2 separate regions of the Homo sapiens genome follow, and region 2 is linked to region 1. Evidence: promoter capture Hi-C in human tissues and cell types (Jung and others, 2019). All regions are on one chromosome and are shown on one strand. Each heading gives the region's core, a stretch centred on a gene start or on the middle of the fragment in contact. The rest is flanking DNA. Distances are from core to core; before and after follow the strand shown. Region 1 holds the start of SLBP (stem-loop histone mRNA binding protein). Region 2 overlaps LOC124900647 (nascent polypeptide-associated complex subunit alpha, muscle-specific form-like).

Region 1 (5,584 bases), core at 1,879-4,378:
GCCCTCAGGTGAGCACCCCAGCAACCGGACAGTGAGTGCTTGCTGCCTTTTCCCCATTCTGCTTCTTGACCCACAGGATGGTTCTTGGGGAAACAGTACACGTAATCCTATTGAAAGATATGACAGTGGGCTCTAGTTTCCTGCGCTACGAGTGTCTTCAGATTCTTTCCAGCCTGGTACTTTCACTGGCATTCTTTTGCATACACAGCCAGGCGCTGCTTTAACCAACAACAGAGATCCAGTGAGCATCTACTGAGGGGCTGTTATGGGCCCTGACTGTGCCAGGCCCTGTGACTCACAGGTACTTGGGACTCTTTGGCTCTGTACTGTTAACTTAGAGAAGAGTTTATTTCTTCTAAAAAGTTACAGCCTGACGAGAATCGCTTGAACCTGGATAGCAGAGATTGCAGTGAGCCGAGATCGCGTCACTACACTCCAGCCTGGGCGACAGAGTGAGACTGTCTCAAAATAAAAATAGTTAACAGCCTGCAAGATGGCCATCCCTCAGACTGGAAAGCACAGCCTCTGGCCAAGACCAGAGATGGGCACTTCAGAGGAGGAGGAGGAGGGGTTGGGGCAGGAGGTTTATGCTGAATGGGTTGGCTAAACATGCATATTCAGCAGGTGACAGGAGGAGCTATGAATATTCATGAAGGCAGTCCTGACGCATGCATCCTGAACAAACATACAATCCACATTCACTTTGGGGTGGAGACTTAACATTTAAAATGTATTATAATGAGGTTCTACACAGGCCAGAAGTGGTCCATCACTGTGGTCTCTTATCTGGACCAAGTTACTGAAATCAGTCTCTTGTCCAATGAAACTGTAGTTATGGCTGGTGGAATAGGGGCTGGGGGATCAGTCAGCATCCGGTGGAACTGCAAATTGGTTTTTATTGTTTTGAGACAGGGTCTTACTCTGTCGCCCAGGCTGGAGTGCAGTGGCGCCATCTGGGCTCACTGTAGCCTTGACCTCCCAGGTTCAAGGAATCCTCCCACTTCAGCTTCCGAGTAGCTGGGATCACAGGCACACACCACCATGGCCGGCTAATTTTTTTGATTTTTAGTAAAGATGAAGTCTTGCTATGTTGCCCAGGCTGGTCTCGAATTCCTGAGCTCAAGCGATCCTCCCACCTCAGCCTCCCAAAATGCTGGGATTACAGGTGTGAGCCACAGTGCCTAGCCTTTTTGTTTAAGTTTTTTGTAAAGATAGGGTCTCGCTGTTACCCAGGCTGGTCTTAAACTCTGGACCTGAAGCAATCCTTTTGGAGGCTTCAGCCTCCCAAAGTGTTGGGATCACAGGCATGAGCCATCATCTCGGCCACTGCACTGTTCCAATATTGCTTAGCTCAAGGCCAGTGCTTATTGAGCTACTAAGAGGAAAAGAAAAGCAGTGTGGCAGTAGGAATATAGTTTAAATGTAGGGTGTGTGACTTAACCCTTGCCTGGCATGACCTTAGGTCCTATTCATAATTTGGTATCTTATTGCCACTGGTGTCCCCTTGACCGCAAGGGGGTCCATTCAGTTGTTGGGGGCTTAGGATTTTAATTTTTTTTGAGACAGAGTTCTGCTCTTGTTGCCCAGGTTGGAGTACAGTGGTGCAATCTTAGCCCACTGCCTCCCGGGTTCAAACAATTCTCCTGCCTCAGCCACCCGAGTAGCTGGGATTACAAGCATGCGTCACCATGCCAGGCTAATTTTGTATTTTTAGTAGAGACAGGGTTTCTCCATGTTGGTCAGGCTAGTCTCGAACTCCCAACCTCAGATGATCCTCCCGCCTCGGCCTCCCAAAGTGTTGGAATTACAGGCATGAGCCACCGCGCCCTGCCAGGATTTTATTTTTAGTTTACAGTGTTGAGGGTTATGGGATGCCCAGGGCCTGGGGAGGAAGGGGACAGGATGTGTCCGTCCTAGTCTGAGGATGACTTTTTTGAGTTCAAAAGGGGGCGGTGGACGCACCAAGGCACAGTCCTGAGGGCAGCAGGTGCAAAAGTCCGGCCCTCCCAGAGGTGTAAGGCCTTAGAGGGATCCCAAGCATCCCTGGGGCTCAGCCTCCTGGACCTGACCCCACTGCCCACTCTTTTGGCTGGTTCCACTCTCCCCTGCATCCCTCACGTTGTCCCCAACAGGAAGCTGTGGGAACCTGTTCTCAGGTGTAGTGCACCCGTTGGGGTTCTAGTTGGCTGGATCCGCGGGGCCGTCAGCTGCAACTGTGACGGCGGGGAAGCGGGACGGGATGGTGCGGATCTACAGGACCTCGCCTCCAGGTGGAACCTACCTGCTGAGCCAGGGATTCTTCAGGATACAAACCCAGTCAACTCCAGGCAGAGGGTGGGAGCGTCATGCACCGGCGACACAGTGGAGGACGTCATGGACGGGCAGGGAGGCAGCGGCAACCGAAACTAGCGGCTCAGTCGGTGGCCGGTGTGCGGTCAACGGCCAGGGCAGTGGGACCGGAAAGACTCAGTGTAGTTGTCAACTGTTGCGACCTAAAAGGTTACTCCAAAACTTTAAGCGGCTCAAAACAATAGACGGCGCGTACGGGGCCTGCAGCGGCCACGGGACCGTGGGAAGCAGTCAGTACCCGCCACAGGCCGCGCCTTCCGGGTTCCGGGTTCCGGGTTCCCGCCAGGGAGGAGACACGCCCCCACCTGGGCAGGAACCAAGCAGAGCCGCGCTCCACCCAGGCCGGAACCAATGGGAGATGCGCCACGACCCAGGCCGAGAAACGTGCCGCTTACCCTTCCCCCACGACCTGCGCCGCGTCGCGCGCGGCCGAATCTCCCGCCAAAGCTGCCCCCGCCCGCCAAGGCGCGACCTATCAGCGTCGCAGAGGCCCGCGGCGGCCCGGCCGCCTCAATCCCGCGGGTGGGGGCAACCTTTTCCTCAGGCCTCTCCTCAGCCCACGGCGTCCATCTGGCTCCCGAGCCGAGGGCCGGGCAGTCGGGCTTCGCGGCTGCCCGCGGTCCCGAGGCCTCGCCCTAGCCCCAGTCGGCTCGCGAGGCGCGCACAGCTGAGTGGACCCCTGCGGCGTGGCCCGATGGTCTCGCCCGACCCGGCGCGCGCGGGAGGCCGAGGGGCGGGGCCCGGCGCCCACATAAAGGCGGTTGGGGGCGGGGCGCGCAGAGCTCGTGAGCGCCGGCGCGGGGACGCGGGTTTCTGCCTCAGGCCCTGCCCTGCTCTACTCTGCGCTCTCTGCCCGCGCCGCCGCCGCCTCAGCCTCGGCCCTGCGCTGCGCGCCCGGCCCGTGCTGCCATGGCCTGCCGCCCGCGAAGCCCGCCGAGGCATCAGAGCCGCTGCGACGGTGACGCCAGGTGAGGCCGGGCTGCGCGGCGGGCGAGGGAGCGCGTGCCCCGTGGGGCGGGGGTTGTGCGGGGCCGGGGTGTGGGAGGGCGGAGGTTGTAAGGCGGTCCCGAACCTCCCGTGCCCAGCCGACCGCGTCCCTCCCCGCAGCCCGCCGTCCCCCGCGCGATGGAGCCTGGGACGGAAGCGCAGAGCCGACGGCAGGCGCTGGAGGCCCGAAGACGCCGAGGAGGCAGAGCACCGCGGCGCCGAGCGCAGACCCGAGAGGTGGGCGCGGGACCCGGGGGTCGGGGCGCGGTGGGGCCCTTGACGAGGCCGCGGGCTCCAGGGACCTCGTCGCGCTCTCGCGGTGCCGGGATCGGTCAGGTCGGCACCCTGCGTCCTTTTATCTTGGTCTCCGCGCGGCCCGTGGACTGGGGCGGCCGCAGCAGGCCTGGGAGGCGCTGGAACACTCCGGAAGCCTCTTGCCAGGATGGGAGTCAGCTGAACCGGCGTCAGCCCGAGTTAGCCAGTTCGAGTCTGTGTTGTGCTCCCGGGAGAGGTCAGGGTCTCTGACGAGCTTCTCGTGAACACGTGGAAGTCAGGGACACCCGAGTCCCGAGGAGAAGTGAGTTGACAGGGCTTACCTGCTTGGCCATTTTCTGGGTTAGGCAGTGTGCAGGGAGGGTGGAGATGCGAGCGAAAGGAGGGCTTGATGGGGTGGGACGGCCGAGGAGGGTCTGGAGGAAATAAGCAGGGGTGCCAGTGGTCGTAGTGGCGGGGCTTTTCGGGGCTGTGGTTAGAGAAAACTTCTCGAGGGGCTTTGGGGTGGCTCGTCCCGCACTGGGGGCTTGTTGCTCCTGAGTTCCCTGAAAGGCGTGGTGACTTGGCCGAGATGGAGCAGTGAAGGTGGAGGGAAATGCGTGGTTCGGGATAGGCTTCTGAAGGCAGGACCTGTGAGACTTGCTGATGGGTTGGGGATGGGAGGCGTGAAAGGAAAAAAAAAAATCGGACCCAACTTCACTGTGCCAAAAGGAAAAAATTATGCTGAGCGCGGAATCATGCAAGAAACTACCTTTGCGTTACTTTTTTTTTTTTTTTTTTTTTTTTAAAGACAGGGTCTCACTCTGTCTCACAGGCTGGAGTGCGGTGACGCGATCTTGGCTCACTGCAGCCTCCCCCTCCCGGGTTCAAGTGATTCTCCTGCCTCAGCCTCCCCAGCAGCTAGGATTACAGGCGCATGCCACCGCGCCCGGCTAACTTTTTGTATTTGTAGTAGAGACAGGGTTTCACCATGTTGACCAGACTGGTGTCGAACTCCTGACCTCAAGTGATCCACCCACCTTGGCCACCCAAAGTGCTGGGATTACAGGTGTGAGCCACCGCGCCCGGCCACCTTTGTGTTTCTTTTTTTTTTTCTAAGCAGATACCTACAGATACAAGATTAAATATCTCCACGGGTGAACTCTGTTCACTTTAAGTGGCGACTTACTGAGCACACTAGGAATACATAATTGACTATTCCCCTACCTGCTCCTTTTCTCTTGGAACATGTAGATCTTTCTCCTTCAACCTACTTTTCTCTTTTAAATATTGAAGCCCTGACAGTCATCTCTGGAGAAAGGCACAGACCACAGACTCTTTCTGTAATTTCGTGTTCTTCTAGGTATGTCCTTAACATTAGCTAAATTCCTAAAGCAATTGAGACCTGTCTCAGACACTTTTTGGTTTACACAGGAAAGAGGCATCAAGAATGACTCAAGCCTTTAGGTCTGAACGCTGTTGATTGGGGCCATTTGCTAAGATAGAGAAGATGGGCTGGAGCAGCTAGGCATGGGAAGTTGTGAGGCTTGAGAAGCTGCTTAGAGAAGCAAAGGAGATGTCAAGAAAGGTAACGGAGTGTAGGAGTCTACATGGGAGGCATCTTCAGGCACAGTGAGTTACCAGGACATAGAGATGATATTTAGAGACTTGGGTCTAGGGGGCTGGGCGCAGTGGCTCCTGCCTGTAATCCCAGCACTTTGGGAGGCCAAGGCGGGCCCATCACCTGAGGTCAGGAGTTCGACACCAGCCTGACTAACATGGAGAAACCCCATTGTTGGGGACCAGCCTCGACACTTACCCGGAATGAGAAGAGACAGGTTAAGAGCTCATAAAGGTGGGAGCCAGGGGACCAGTTGGAAAATGGAGGCTGCAAAAGGCCCGGAGTTGCGGTCTCCACACTATTTATTGAGTACAATCACTTTAAGAAGTAGGCCGGGCGCGGTGGCTCATGCCTGTAATCCCAGCGCCTTGGCAA
Region 2 (5,691 bases), core at 1-2,500, 550 kb after region 1:
AATTAGAAGCTGTCTCCAGAAACAGAAAGCATAATGTATTCCAAAGAGGAGAAGTGAAAGCAGTCCACGCCCACACACAGTATATTGAAACTGGTGAACACTAAACACAAAGAACGAACCTTCAGGCTGGGCGCGGTGGCTCACGCCTGTAATCCCAGCACTTTGGGAGGCCGAGGCAGGCGGATCACGAGGTCAGGAGATCGAGACCATCCTGGCTAACACGACGAAACCCTGTCTCTACTAAAAATACAAAAAAAATTAGCTGGGCGCGGTGGCGGGCACCTGTAGTCCCAGCTACTTGGGAGGCTGAGGCAGGAGAATGGCATGAACCCCAGAGGCAGAGCTTGCAGTGAGCCAAGATTGCGCCATTGCACTCCAGCCTGGGAGACAGTGAGACTCCATCTCAAAAAAAAAAAAACAAAAAACAAAAAAAAAAAACAAGAAAAAACCTTCAAAGGACCCAGAGGAATGTACAGATTGCTTATGAAGGAACATCTATTGAATGACAGCTACTTCCTAACAGCCCAAAGGGAGTCAGAAGGCAGTCAGATAATAACTTTTGAAATGTTGAGAGAAATTAACTGTCAACCCACAGCTGGGAACTCAGCAACACCTTTTAAGAATGAGAGCAAAATGCAGACATTTTCAGATTAACAGAAACTGAAGAATCTTAATACCAAGATAATTACCCTGAAAAACTTCTAAAGGATGTTGTTCAGGGTGGAGGAAAATTATCCCAAAAGGATGGTCTGAGATTTGAGGAATGGTAATACAAATTATTTTAAATCTCTCCAATAACAAAAGTATAAATTCCCCAAAGATGGAGAAAAAAATAACAGCAAAATTAGAGAAGCTGAAAAGCAGCGGTAAAGTGAGAGCTGATCAGCAGGGCCGAGGAAAACAAATCCTAAGCTGGAAGTTCAGGTTCACAAATTCAAATAACTGGCCGGCCACGGTGGCTCACACCTGTAATCCCAGCACTTTGGGAGGCTGAGATGGGTGGATCACTTGAGGTCAGGAGTTTGAGACCAGCCTGGCCAACATGGTGAAACCCCATCTGTACTAAAAATACAAAATTAGCCGGGAGTGGTGGCAGATGCCTGTAATCCCAGCTACTCAGGAGGCTGAGGCAGGAGAATTGCTTGAACCCAGGAAGCAGAGGTTGCAGTGAGCCGAGATTGCACCATTGCACTCCACCCTGGGCGATACAGACTCCTTCTCAAAAAAACAAAAACCCCCAAAAAACAAACACCCAAATTCAAATAACTGGGCAAATTTTTAACCACAGAATGTTTAAAAGCACAGGGAATTGTCAGTTCCAAATACATTTATTACTAGATTCTATAATGTCATAGTATAATTTTGGTATAGGATAATGCTGACCTCATAAAATGAATCCAAGTGCTCTCTTCTCTGACTTTGTGAAAAATGGATATTAACTTTTTCATAAACGTTTTATAGAATATTTCACAGAATTCACCAGTGAGGCCATTGGGCCTAGAATTTTCTTTGTGGGAGGAGTTTTTAATTACAAATAAAATTTATTTATTCGATTCTTTATTAGATTGATTAGGCTATTAAAAATATTTTTTCTTGTGAAAGTTTTTGTAATTTGTGCTTTTGAAGAATTTGTCAATTTCATCTAAATTGTCAAATGTATTGGCACAACTCATTCACAAAATTCTTTTAGACAGGGTATCCCTCTGTCGTCAGGCTGGAGTGCAGTGACACAGTCACTGCTTACTGCAGTCTCAGCCTTCTAGGTTCAAGCCATCCTCCCACCTTAGCCTCCTGAGTAGCTGGGACTACAGGTACCCCCCCACCACACCCAGCTGATTTTTATTGTTTTGTAGCAACAAGGTCTCACTATGATGTCCAGGCTGGTCTTAAACTCCTCAAGTCATATCCATCTTCCTTAGTCTCCCGAAATGCTGGGATTACAGACATGAGCTACCACACTGGCCCATAAAATTTCTTTATTACCCTCTTATTATCTGTAGAATTTATAACGATATCCCCTTTCATTCTGATATTGGTAACTTGTGGTTTTTCTCCTTCTCCCCTGATCAGACTTACCAATTTTATTGATCTTTCAAAGAACGAGTTTTAGTTTCATTAGCTTTCTCTAGTGTTTGTTCATTTTGTTTCAATGATTTCCACACTTTACTTTTACTTTTTCTTCCATCAATCTTTAATGTTTCCTTCCTTCTTACTTTAGGTTTAATTTGCTTTTCTTTTTGTAGTTTATTAAGGTAGAAGTTTAGGTCATGGATTTTAAACTTTTCTTCTTTTCTAATACAAGCATTTTTTTTTTTTTTTTTTGAGACAGAGTCTCACTCTGTCACCCAGGTTGGAGTGCGGTGGCGTGATCTCAGCTCACTGCAACCTCCGCCTCCTGGGTTCAAGCAATTCTCCTATCTCAGCCTCCCAAGTAACTGGGACTACAGGCACATGTCATCATGCCTGGCTAATTTTTAAATTTTTAAAATAGAGATATGATCTTACTATGTTGCCCAGGCTGGTCTCAAACTCAATACAGGTATTTAAAGGCATAAATTTCCCTTTATAAATTGCTTTAGCCGCATACCACAAAAGAAATATATTTTCATTGCAATTCAATTAAAATACTTCCTATCTTCCCTGTGACATCTTCTCTGATACATGGTTTATTTAAAACTGTGTTTAATATCTAAATATTTGCAGTTTCTCATATAAGTTTTATTACTGATTTCTAATTCAATTAAGTTATGGTCAGGAACATATTGTATGATTTCAATCCTTGTAAATTTATTGATACTATTTTATAGCCCCAAGTAAGACCTATCTTGGCAAATATTCCCTGTGCATCCTGTCATGCCTGAGTGTGGTGTTTCACTAATGTTAGTTTGCTCAAGTTGGGTCACATTGGTTGATGGCATCGTTCAGGTCTTCACTAATCCTACTGACTTCCCTTTATTTGTTATATTACTAATAGAGGATTGTTGACATCTCCAACTATAATTATAGATGTATCTCTTTCTCCTTCAATTCTGGCAATTTTTGTTTCATAAAATTTGGAAGCTTTATTATTAGGTACATATATATTTAAGATAGTTCCCATTTATCATTATGAAATGCTCCTTTATCTCCAGTAATCTCCTTTTATTTAAAAATCTATCTTGCCTGATATTAATATTGGCACTCCTACTTCTTGGATTAGAGTTTGCATGGAATATCTTTTTAAAAGCCAGTTTCTTGTAGACATTACTTATTTGAGTCTTGCTTCTTTACTGGTCTGATAATCTCTGCCTTTATGTCATTTACATCGAATGGACTTAATTGATATCATCAGATTTAAATCTACCAATTTCATTTTTATTTTGTCTCATCTGTTCTTTCTTTTCTTGCATATAATTTTATTTTTGAGCCATGTAAATATTTTACATAATCAAAAATAAAAATAGTGAACTTTAAAGAGGCAAAATGACTAAACTGCAAATATTGAAAACAAACTGACACAAATGAAATATACTTTATATGAAAATAATTACTTCAATAACTTTAAATGGTGTTTTTGTGCGTATGTCCCCGGGAAAAGACGAAAGAGAATGGCAAAGAAATCTTAGATGGCATTTCGTAGTCTTTTTGATAGCAGCAAATGTTGGTGTGGCTCTTTGGAAATTCTTGTGGACACCCCCACTTTACTGCACTTTGCTTCACTGTGCTTTGCAGATACTGTGCTTTTTACAAATGGAAGGTTTGAGGCAACCTTGAATTGAGCAAGTCTGTCAGCGCCATTTTCCAACAGCATGTGCTCACTTCATGTCTCTGTGTCACTTTTTGGTAACTGCCACAATATTTCAGTGTATTTTATCATTATTATATCTGTTATAACGATCTGTGTTCAGTGATCTTTGTTGTTACTGCTGAAATTGTTTTAGGACGTCACCAACTATACCCACGTAAGATGGCAAATGTAGTAGATAAATGTTGTGTGTGGTCTGACTGCTCCAATGACTGTCCATTGCCTCATTTCTCTCTCTCTCCTCAAGTCTCCCTATTTCCTGAGATATACTAATATGAAATTAGGCCAACAAGTAACCCTGCAGTGGCCTCTAAGTGTTCAAGTGAAAGGAGGAGCCATCATCTCTCTCTTGCAATCAAAGGCTAGAAATGATTAACATAAAGCTGAGATAGGCTGAAAGCTAGGCCTCTTGTGCCAAACAGTCAGCCAAGTTGTGAATACAAAGAAAAAAGTATTGTTATTTTTTGAGACAGGGTTTTGCTCTGTCACCTAGGCTGGAGTGCAGTGGCATGATCATAGCTCGCTGTAACCTTGAACTCTTGGGCTCAAGGGATCCTCCTGCCTTAGCCTCCAAACTAGCTAGGACTACAGGCATGTGCCCAGCTAATTTTTTTTTTATGTATTTTTTTGTCGAGACAAGGTTTTGCTATGTTGCTCAGGCTGGTCTCAAACTCCTGGCCTCAAGCAATCCTCCTGCCTCAGTCTCAAAGTGTTGGGATTATAGACATGAGCCACTGTGCCCAGCCAAGAAAAGTTCTTGAAGGAAATTAAGAGTGCCACTCCAGTAAACACACAAATGATAAAGTGAAACAGCCTTATTGCTGATATGGAGAAAGTTTGAGTGGTCTAGATAGAAGATCAAACCGGACACAACCTTCCCTTAAGCTAAAGCCTAATCCAGAGCAAGGCTTTCTCTTCAGTTCTATGAAGGCTAAGAGAGGTAAGGGAGCTGCAGAAGAAAAGTTTGAAACTAGCAGAGGTTGGTTCATGAGGTTTAAGGGAAAAAAAAAACAGAACAAGGTGAAGCAGCAAGTGCTGATGTAGAAGCTGCAGCAAGTCACCCAGAAGATGTAGCTGAGATCATTGATGAAGACGGCTACACTAAACAGTGGATTTCAAATGTAGACAAAACAGTCTTCTATTGGAAGAAGATGCCATCTAGAACTTTCATAGCTAGAGAGAAGCCAGTGTCTGGCTTCAAAGCTTCAAACGACAAGCTAACTCTCTCATTAGGGGTAATGCAGCTGGTGACTTAAAGTTGACTCCAATCCTCATTGACCATTCTGAAAATCTTAGGGCCCTTAATAATTATGCTAAACCTCCTCCACTTATGCTCTATACATGGAACAACATGGCCTGGATGACAGCCATCTGTTTACAGCATGGCTAACTGAATATTTTAAGCCTACTTTTGAGACCTACTGCTCAGAAAAAAAAAAAAGATTATTTCAAAGTATTACTATGCATTGACAATATTGACAATGCAGCTGGTCACCCAAGAGCTCTGATGAAAATGTATAAGGAGATTACTGTTGTTTTCATGCCTGCTAACACAACATCCATTCTGCAGCCCATGGATCAAGGAGAAATTTCAATTATCAAGTCTTACTATTTGAGAAATACATCTTGTAAAGCTATAGCTGCCACAGATAGGGATTCCTCTCATGAATCTGGACGAGTAAATTGAAAACCTTCTGGAAAGGATTCACTATTCCAGATGCCATTCAAAACACTGATGATTCATGGGAGGACATACAAATATCAACATGAACAGGAGTTTGGGAGAAGCTGATCTTAACCCTCAAGGATGACTTTGAGGAGTTGAAGACTTCAGTGCAGGAAGTCTCTACAGATGTGGTGGAAACAGCAAGAGAAATAGAATTAGAAGTGGAGCCTGCAGATGGGAC

Evidence for each region. Contacts are between HindIII fragments. The study calls those that stand out against the background at their distance.
Region 2: a fragment that was not itself captured here is called in contact with the fragment with the promoter of SLBP in region 1 in 1 of the 25 tissues and cell types used here (dorsolateral prefrontal cortex).

Annotation. Positions count from the first base shown.
Region 1 is chr4:1,709,863-1,715,446 of GRCh38, reverse strand. SLBP (stem-loop histone mRNA binding protein) reads left to right here and starts at 3,128. Exons shown (of 8, transcript NM_006527.4): 1 at 3,128-3,317; 2 at 3,457-3,573. The coding sequence starts at 3,259. RefSeq lists enhancers at 13-82, 203-312, 2,292-2,581 and silencers at 2,712-3,621, 3,632-3,751. The HindIII fragment of the contact is 8,102 bases long and covers 1,900-5,584 here.
Region 2 is chr4:1,157,736-1,163,426 of GRCh38, reverse strand. All of the region lies in intron 1 of LOC124900647 (nascent polypeptide-associated complex subunit alpha, muscle-specific form-like), which reads right to left. Among named protein-coding and RNA genes, the nearest start is that of SPON2, 12 kb to the left of the region's middle. RefSeq lists an enhancer at 1-4. The HindIII fragment of the contact is 5,549 bases long and covers 1-4,024 here.